2 separate regions of the Homo sapiens genome follow, and region 2 is linked to region 1. Evidence: promoter capture Hi-C in human tissues and cell types (Jung and others, 2019). All regions are on one chromosome and are shown on one strand. Each heading gives the region's core, a stretch centred on a gene start or on the middle of the fragment in contact. The rest is flanking DNA. Distances are from core to core; before and after follow the strand shown. Region 1 holds the start of CNTN1 (contactin 1). Region 2 overlaps CNTN1 (contactin 1).

Region 1 (4,193 bases), core at 289-2,788:
ATATTGGCACTCTAAGAATGTTTGCAAAATACTGAAATATTGAAAACATGAAATATGACATATTGAAAACATGAAATATGAAATATTGATCTTTACGTGAGTTACAAAAACATTATTTCACGCAGGGTTTCAGCAGTCTGAATGCTTCTTCTCCGGCTTTTCCCCCAATGGAGAATTGGATTCCCTTTTGCCCCGCCCACTCAGTGCTTCCAGATTGCTTGAGAAGGCCAAGGCAGCCGGCTCAGCAGCAGGGAAGCCGGGCTGGGTATGCAGGAGCTATATATAGCTCCACCTTGGAGATGTGCACACACAAGCACACGTACGAATACCCATGCCCGGTTTGGCATGAAAATAAATAAATAAATAAGGAAAGGTCGCAGCTATCCGCTTTCCCTCTTTCCCATCATCCCAATTTTTCAGGAATTTTCAAAGCAGGGTGTCATCAGTCCCAGAGGGTGATGCAGCGTCGGATCTCTCTGCAATTCTTCTGCCTACTGCTCCCAGCAATCTGACTCCTGCAGGAACCGGCACTGGGCCAACACCTACTACCCAGATGCGGTCACCTAGGGAGGCAGCCTCGCAGCCGCTCGGAGCCCATCCGGGCACAATCACTTGACTCCCTGGAAATCCCTGAAGCCAAATCCACCTTTCAGAAACTAGGTGTGAAGGTGGTTCCCGTAGACAGCGCCAGGCTAGGAGGGAAGGGGCCGTGGCTCCGCGGTCTCTCCCTCCCACCTGCCGCAGATCGTGGAGAAGGGCCGGTGCCTTCTCAACGGAGACGTAATTAATCGGAACGTGCCCTTCGAGTTGCAGGGATTCTTCCCCACCCCCATCTCCTGAAGGGAGCTAGATCTTAACAGAGGGGTCAGGGGACAAACAAGTCGCTTCCTCCCCTCTCCGCAACCGCTCCCAGGTTTTCCGGGATGCGCTAGCCAGGCGCCCAGGTGGGATGGGAAAGATGAGCAGGTGCGGGCCGGCGTCGGGAGAAAAAGACCTGCAGGCCCCGGGCTGCCGACCTCTCTGCTTCCCCACCCCTCCCCTGCCGAGGCGATATGGCATCCCTGGGGCGAGTTCCCGGCGCTGGCGGCGGCAGCCTCCGAAAGGAAAGTTGACGAGACACAGACCCCGAGCTCGGAGCCCTCTTCTAGGGCACTGCCGTCCTGCCTTGCCCGGCACCCCAGGGCTCCGGCATCCCGCACCCCTGCTTCCCCGCACCCCAGCCACCTCCGCCCCAGTCCTTCCCGCGCCGCACGGCGAGAGCTGCAGGGACCACAGGAGATTTGGGGGTGACGAGGGCTGGGCGGGGCTGGGGGAAGGGAAGCAACAGCATGGAAATGCGCATTCTTTATTTTATCTGCAAAGAAGGAAAAGTCCAGCTTCCTACCTGTTCCCTGCTCCTGCTCGCCTCGGTGCGGCACAGCTGGACCATACCCTACAGGTTTCCCACTTCCGCTGCAAACACCTGGGAGCGCATCTCCCCACCGGCGCCCCTCCTCGCCTCGGCGGAGCCCACCCTGGCTACTTGACAGCAGAAGCCCGGCCTTTTAGGGCGGTTATTGGGGCAGCAGGGAAAGTGGGGCGGGGACCACAGGGAAACCCGCTTCTCTGATTGGACAACAGGGATATCACTCTCACCCCCAGGACCAGCGCAGGCTGCAGACTTGGGTAGCTGCTAAACCCAACTGCAAAGGGTCTCTGCAGTGCCTGAAACCCAAACCTGCTGCTACCGGATCAAGGACCCTTGCTGGAGAGAAACTGGTTTGATGACTTGTCATTTGGGGCCCCAAGAGGGAGGGAGGGTCCAGGCATAACTAGACACCCAGCACTTTCCTGAAGCTTCCCTGAAGGGACCATCTGCTCCGGGAGATTTGTCAGGCGAAAATACCAAGCCAGCGCCTCATAGAGAAGAATGAGCTTCGATTAGGAAATAATAAGATACTTATGTGGGAAAAAATACACACACAGAAAGGAAAATAAAACGATGTGAGGTTTTTTTTTAAAGTTTCCATTTTTGTCCAGATGTAACATGGCAGTTTTTCTTGAGAAAAGACGGAATTGCTTAGTCTGTAATGCAGAAGACCCCCTAATATTCCCTGGTAGAAACAGTGTTTTAAACGGGAAAGCACTGCATAATAACCTCTCAAAAAAAAAAAAAGGGTAAAAGAAATTAAGGCCAAACTGCATGAGAGATTTGCTTTGGGGCAGTTCAGTTTGTGGCAAAAGTCTTAAAATAATCACCATTAGACTGATTGATAATTAAGTGATCTGTTACTTTTCTATTGATAGTAGTTTATCATTTCTTTAGTACTCAGACACTGAGAGGATGTTTATGCCCCCAAACCTAAGTGATCCCAAGCCTGCCTTTTATGTGAAGGGAACAGGGTAAAATAACTTTGTGTCCAGTTGCCATCTCTGCCATTTATTCAGGTGGAATCTGGAAATTTTGGAATTCAAGAGACTCCTTAAATGAAGGAACGTGCTAGAACTACCACGTGTAAAACTGGGAGTGTAGGGTGTCTTAGTATATAGTACCATGTGAGGAATCAAGTTGCCTTCTGCCTGCAAATAGCCACATTCTTCTTCTATCTGAATTAAGTAGCCATCTTAAGTGCTGAGCATAAGACACAACTCTCATTCTCACAGAGCTTCAAAGAGCTTATGACAGGCTTGGGACACTGGACAACTGTTAGAGAAGATGACATTGCTATTAATAAATATAGACTCTACTTAGTGGTTACGGTTGTTATTACTATCATCAGGTAAGGCTCTTCATAATGTTTTCTTCATAATACTGAAGGAATCCGATTAATGCATTTGAAGGTGGGGGCCGGGCGAGGTGGCTCATGCCTGTAATCCCAGCACTTTGGCAGGCGAGGCAGGCGGATCACAAGGTCAGGAGATCGAGACCATCCTGGCTAACACGGTGAAACCTCGTCTCTACTCAAAAAAAAAAAAAAAAAAAAAAATACAAAAAATACAAAAAATTAGCCGGGCATGGTGTTGGGCGCCTGCAGTCCCAGCTACTCAGAAAGCTGAGGCAGGAGAATGGCGTGAACCCAGGAGGCGGAGTTTGCAGTGAGCGGAGATTGCGCCACCGCACTCCAGCCTGGGCGACAGAGCGAGACTCCGCCTCAAAAAATAAAATAAAATAAAATAAAATAAAATAAAATAAAATAAAATAAAATAAAATAAAATAAAATAAAATAATAAAATAAAATAAAATAATGCATTTGAAGGTGGGAAGGGACCCTGGAGAAAATTTACAGTGAACAAATAGATATTATTTGTGTGGTGACAACCATCTTAACACTGAATGGAAATGACTAAATATGCCGTGGCAAAATTTCAGAACCCCTGTGTCATTTCTTACACAATACTCCTATTAGTCATGCACCTCTGTCCCAGGTACTCACACCAGTTATTCCATTGGATTGGCCAAATCATTCATGAATTACTGAGTACTTTTTCAATGCCATACCCTGTGTTAGGTGCTACAGAACTAAAGCAGAATAATGTATTGGACACATTAAAGATGATCTCAGGAAGCAATTACAATAGTAATATTTCTAAGGAATGTGTGTTTGCAACACGAACATCTTTTGATTCCTAAGCATAAATTATTTTGAGTCAAAATGAGCTTCAACATACTCTCCTCTAGAGGTAATCAGAGGAGAAGAAAAAGTATCAAAGAAAATACCTAAATATTGAAGACAACACAAGAATTGAAATTGGTAATGAAAAGAAAACTAAAGACATCTCTGCTATCTGCGTTCTTTCATTGCTTCACTCATTCATTCCTTCAACAAATATTACTATTATAAATGTGATGGTGAATAAAATAGGCAAGCTCTCATGGAACACATTCTTTATTCTTCAAGCAGACAATGTTACTTTGTGCATTTACTGTGATCTAATTAGCAGCTTTGTGTGTACATGCAAACACAACTCTGGAACAGTATTAAGATAATTTCTCTCTGGATCAGGCATCTCACACATTTTCAAGTAAAACAGAGCATTTTCAGGTTATTGCTTATTATCTCAAAGAGAAAAACCTGTACATATGTTCCCACAATACAAATGAATATGTCAAAGGTATCTGCTGCTGCAGAACATTTTAGATTTTCCAAATCACTTTCAGATACAATTTCCCTCTGTGTTCTAAAATAAGCAGGAGAGTCATCATTAGTCGCATT
Region 2 (4,126 bases), core at 79-2,578, 120 kb before region 1:
AAAATACTGTCGTAAGAGACAAAGGTCATTATATCATGATAAAAGAGTGAATTCATCAAGATATAACCATTGTAAATATATATGCACCCAATACTATAGCAGCTAAATATATAAAACAAATATTAACAGAACTGATGGGAGAAATCAACACAAATACAATAGTATTAGGGGCTTCAATACCCCATTTTCAACAATGGATAAATCATCCAGACAGAAAATCAGTAAGAAAACAGCAGACATAAACAGAAACATTGTCTATAGGTTTCTTAAATAACCTATAGACAAAGTGAACACAAGACATACACAGAACATTCCATCCAACAGCAGCAGAATACATATTCTTCTCAAGTGTACACACAGCATTCTCTAGGATAGATCAAACATTGGGCCACAAAATCAGTCTTAGCAAATTTAAGAAGCTTGAAATCATATTAAGTATCTTTTATAATCAAATCTAGAAGTCAATAATAACAGAAAGACTGGAAAATTCACAAACATGTGGAAATTAAACAATATGCTCCTGAATAACCAATGAGTCAAAGAAATCAAAAGATAACTTTGAAAATATCTTAAGACAAACAAAAATGAAAACACAACATACCGAAATTTAAGGGATGCAGCAAAAGCAGTTCTAAGGAGACAGTTATGGCAATAAATGTCTACATTAAAAAAAAAAGAAAGATCTCACATAAACAACCTAACATTACATCTCAAGGAATGAGAAAAAGAAGAACAAACTAAGACTAAAATTAGTAGAAGAAACAAAATAACAAAATCAGAGCAGAAATAAGTGAAATAGAAAATGGAAAAACAATAGAAAATGTCAATGACACTAAGAGTTTTTTTTTTTTTGAAAAGATAAAGTTAACAAACCTTCAGTGAGACGAAGGAAAAAGGAGAAAAGACTCAAATAAAATGAGAAATGAAAAAGGATATAACAGGTGATATTACAAAACACAAAGGATTCTAAGAGGCTACTATGAACAATTATATCCAAACAAATTGGATAATCTAGAAGAAATCAATAAATTCCTAGAAGCATACAACCTATCAAGATTGAATTATGAAATAGAAAATCTAAACAGACAAATACAAGTAAGGCAATCTAATCAGTTATCAAAAATCTTCTATCAAAAAAAGCCCAGAAATGGATGACTTTACTGGTGAATTCTACCAAACATTTAGAAAAGAATTTACACCAATCTTTCTCAAACAGCTTGAAAAATTATAGAGAAGTGAACATTTTCAAACTCATTTTAATGAGGCCAGCTTTATCCTTATACCAAAGCCAGATAAACACACTACAAGAAAAGAAAATTACAGGCCAATTCTGATAAACATAGATGCAAATATCCTCAACTCAGTGTTTTCAAAAGGCATATTGTGTTGCCTGTATAAAATACCAGCAAAGGGTTATGTAATACATTATGGATGATACTAAAAAAATTAAAAACAGAATGACCATATTATCAAGCAATCCGATTTCAGGGTGTATATCCAAAGAAAATTTAATCACTGTCTTGAAGAAATATCTGTACTTCCATGTTCACTGCAGCATTATTCTCAATAACCAAGTAATGAACACAACCTAAGTGTCCATTGATGAATGAACGGATAAAGAAATTTGATGTACACGCAATTAAATATTAATCAATTTTTATTTGTTATTTATTTTTAGAGACAGGCTTTCATTCTGTCACCCAGGCTGGAGTACAGTGCCATGGTTGTAGCTGATTGTAACCTCAAACTTCTGGGGTCAAGTGATCTTCCTGCCTCAGCAGTCATGTACCACCATGCCTAGCTACTTTATTTATTTATTTATATTTGGTAGATATGAGGTCTTACTATGTTGCCTAGCTGGTTTCAAACTCTTGCCCTCAAGCAATCCTGCAGTCTTAGCCTCCCAAAGGTCTGAAATTATAGGCATGAGCCACTATTCCAGCTCAATTTTTAAAAGGAAGGAAATCCTGTCATTTGCAACAACTAGGATGAACCTGGAGAACATTATGCTAACTGAAGTGTCATACACAGAAAGATAAATACTATGTAATCTCACTTATATGTGAAATCTAAAAAAAAAAAAAATCAATCTCATAGAAACAGAATAGAAGGTTAGGTACTAGATGTTAGGGTGTGGTGGAAATGGGGAGATGTTGGTCAAAGGGTACAAACGTGGCAGTTGTAAGATGAATAAGTTCTAGAGACCTCACGTAAAACATGGTGACTATAGTTAATAATGCCATATTATACACTTGAAATTCTCTTAGAAAGTAGATCTTAAGTATTGTCAGCACAAAAAGGACAAAAGGTAGCTATGTGAGATGATGGCTATGTTAACAAACTTTATTGTGGAAATCATTTAGCAATTTGTATATAGATATCAAAACATCACTTTGTGACTCATATACACCTTTAATACATAAAATTTTTATTTGTCAAGTATACCTCAACAAAGCTGAAGAATATAAAAGAGGGCTTATTATAGGAATGCATGAATGAATAAATGCCCCAAACAAAATTCGCTACAATACTTGATTTAAAATACAGGCTTCATTTATGGACTTTCAGCCTCATTATCATTAAAAAGGTACTTATCTAAAAACTTTTGCATATATTTTTTAAAATAACCATACCATGATTACAGCATACAAGTATATATTGTTCACACTAATAATGCACACTGATCCATCCTCTACCAGCCCCAAAGATAGCCACTATCCTGACGACTAACAATAGAGATTAGTGTCACCTGATTTTTATTAAAAACAATCTGTAGAGTTGTAAAATTCTCCAAATATATAGAGTCATTTACAAATGAGTTTTGACTTTTGTGTGTGTGTGTGTGTGTGTGTGTGTGTGTGTGTGAGACAGAGTCTCACTCTGTTGCCCAGGCTGGAGTGCAGTGGCACAATCTCGGCTCACTGCAACCTCTGCCCCCCGGGTTCAAGCAATTCTCCTGCCTCAGCCTCCTGAGTAGCTGGGATTACAGGCGTGCACCACCACACCTGGCTAATTTTATATTTTTAGTAGAGACAGGTCATGCTGGTCAGGCTGATCTTGAACTCCTGACCTCGTGATCCGCCTGCCTTGGCCTCCCAAAGTGCTGGGCTTACAGGCGTGAGCCACTGTGCCCGGCCAATAAATGTTTTATATATATATATTCTTTCCATTCTTACTTGACTATAGGTTCAAGATATAAAATTTGTTGATTCATTTAATAAGATGATTTTGTATAAGTTCCTTTTGATATGCATACTTTGGGACACATTTTATTTCCTGCCCCAAACTAACCCCCAGAGAAGGATATTAATGTACCAGCAAGTTATTTTGTAAAACATTCATTTTGTGGAGTTATTGCATAAGGTAATCAATCAACTTTGCTTCTTCATAAGGAGTTTTATCTTGAAACTAGCAGCTGTAATTTCCTGGAAAAGATTTTATCACAGACATCTGTCCTATGAAATTAAAGAGGAAGTCATAAAAATATCTTGAAAATACAACTAATATTTTAGTTCTAGGGAATGGTTGTAGGGATCTTTCTGAACAAAGTGTTACTTTATATAGAAATACACAATATTTCAATTAGAAATAATTGATTTAAAGTAGGTAATAAAATTCCTAATTTATGTGAATAACACATGATCTAGACTGCCTTCTTGGTGAAAAATCGTCAGATGCAAAATTCTTGACTAGAGTGACCACTATATGATCCAGTAATAATTATGTTTGAAAAATAATCTAAATTACATGCACAGAGAAAAACAAGGGAATGGAAGTGAAAGAAAAACCAGTTTGGACCATGCAGATGTATGAATTCAAAGAATAATACCTAGGTTTTTGTTTGTTTGTTTATTTGTTCGTTTGTTTTTATTGGCTAACCTTGACTTGAGCTCTTTCTTTCGCAAATATTCACTGATGTGGGCTGTGAGTCAAAACCCAATCTGGTGGTTGGAATTTAAAAGCTCTTGTCCTCAAAGGCTTAGAACCAGTGGTTTGTTGAGATCAGCCTGTCACAATATGGAAGAGCCTATTTTAATTTCAGGAATTTTGCAAGCTGGTTGTTTAAAAAAATCACAGTCATCATTAATAATTAAATGATAAGCTTTAAATTATATTTTTAAAATGC

Evidence for each region. Contacts are between HindIII fragments. The study calls those that stand out against the background at their distance.
Region 2: a fragment that was not itself captured here is called in contact with the fragment with the promoter of CNTN1 in region 1 in 5 of the 25 tissues and cell types used here (bladder, dorsolateral prefrontal cortex, hippocampus and 2 more).

What each region holds. Positions count from the first base shown.
Region 1 is chr12:40,689,784-40,693,976 of GRCh38, reverse strand. CNTN1 (contactin 1) reads right to left here and starts at 1,538. Exons shown (of 24, transcript NM_001843.4): 1 at 1,385-1,538. The HindIII fragment of the contact is 18,580 bases long and covers 1-3,789 here.
Region 2 is chr12:40,808,554-40,812,679 of GRCh38, reverse strand. The region is part of intron 1 of CNTN1 (contactin 1); the gene reads right to left. Among named protein-coding and RNA genes, the nearest start is that of CNTN1, 120 kb to the right of the region's middle. The HindIII fragment of the contact is 7,484 bases long and covers 1-4,126 here.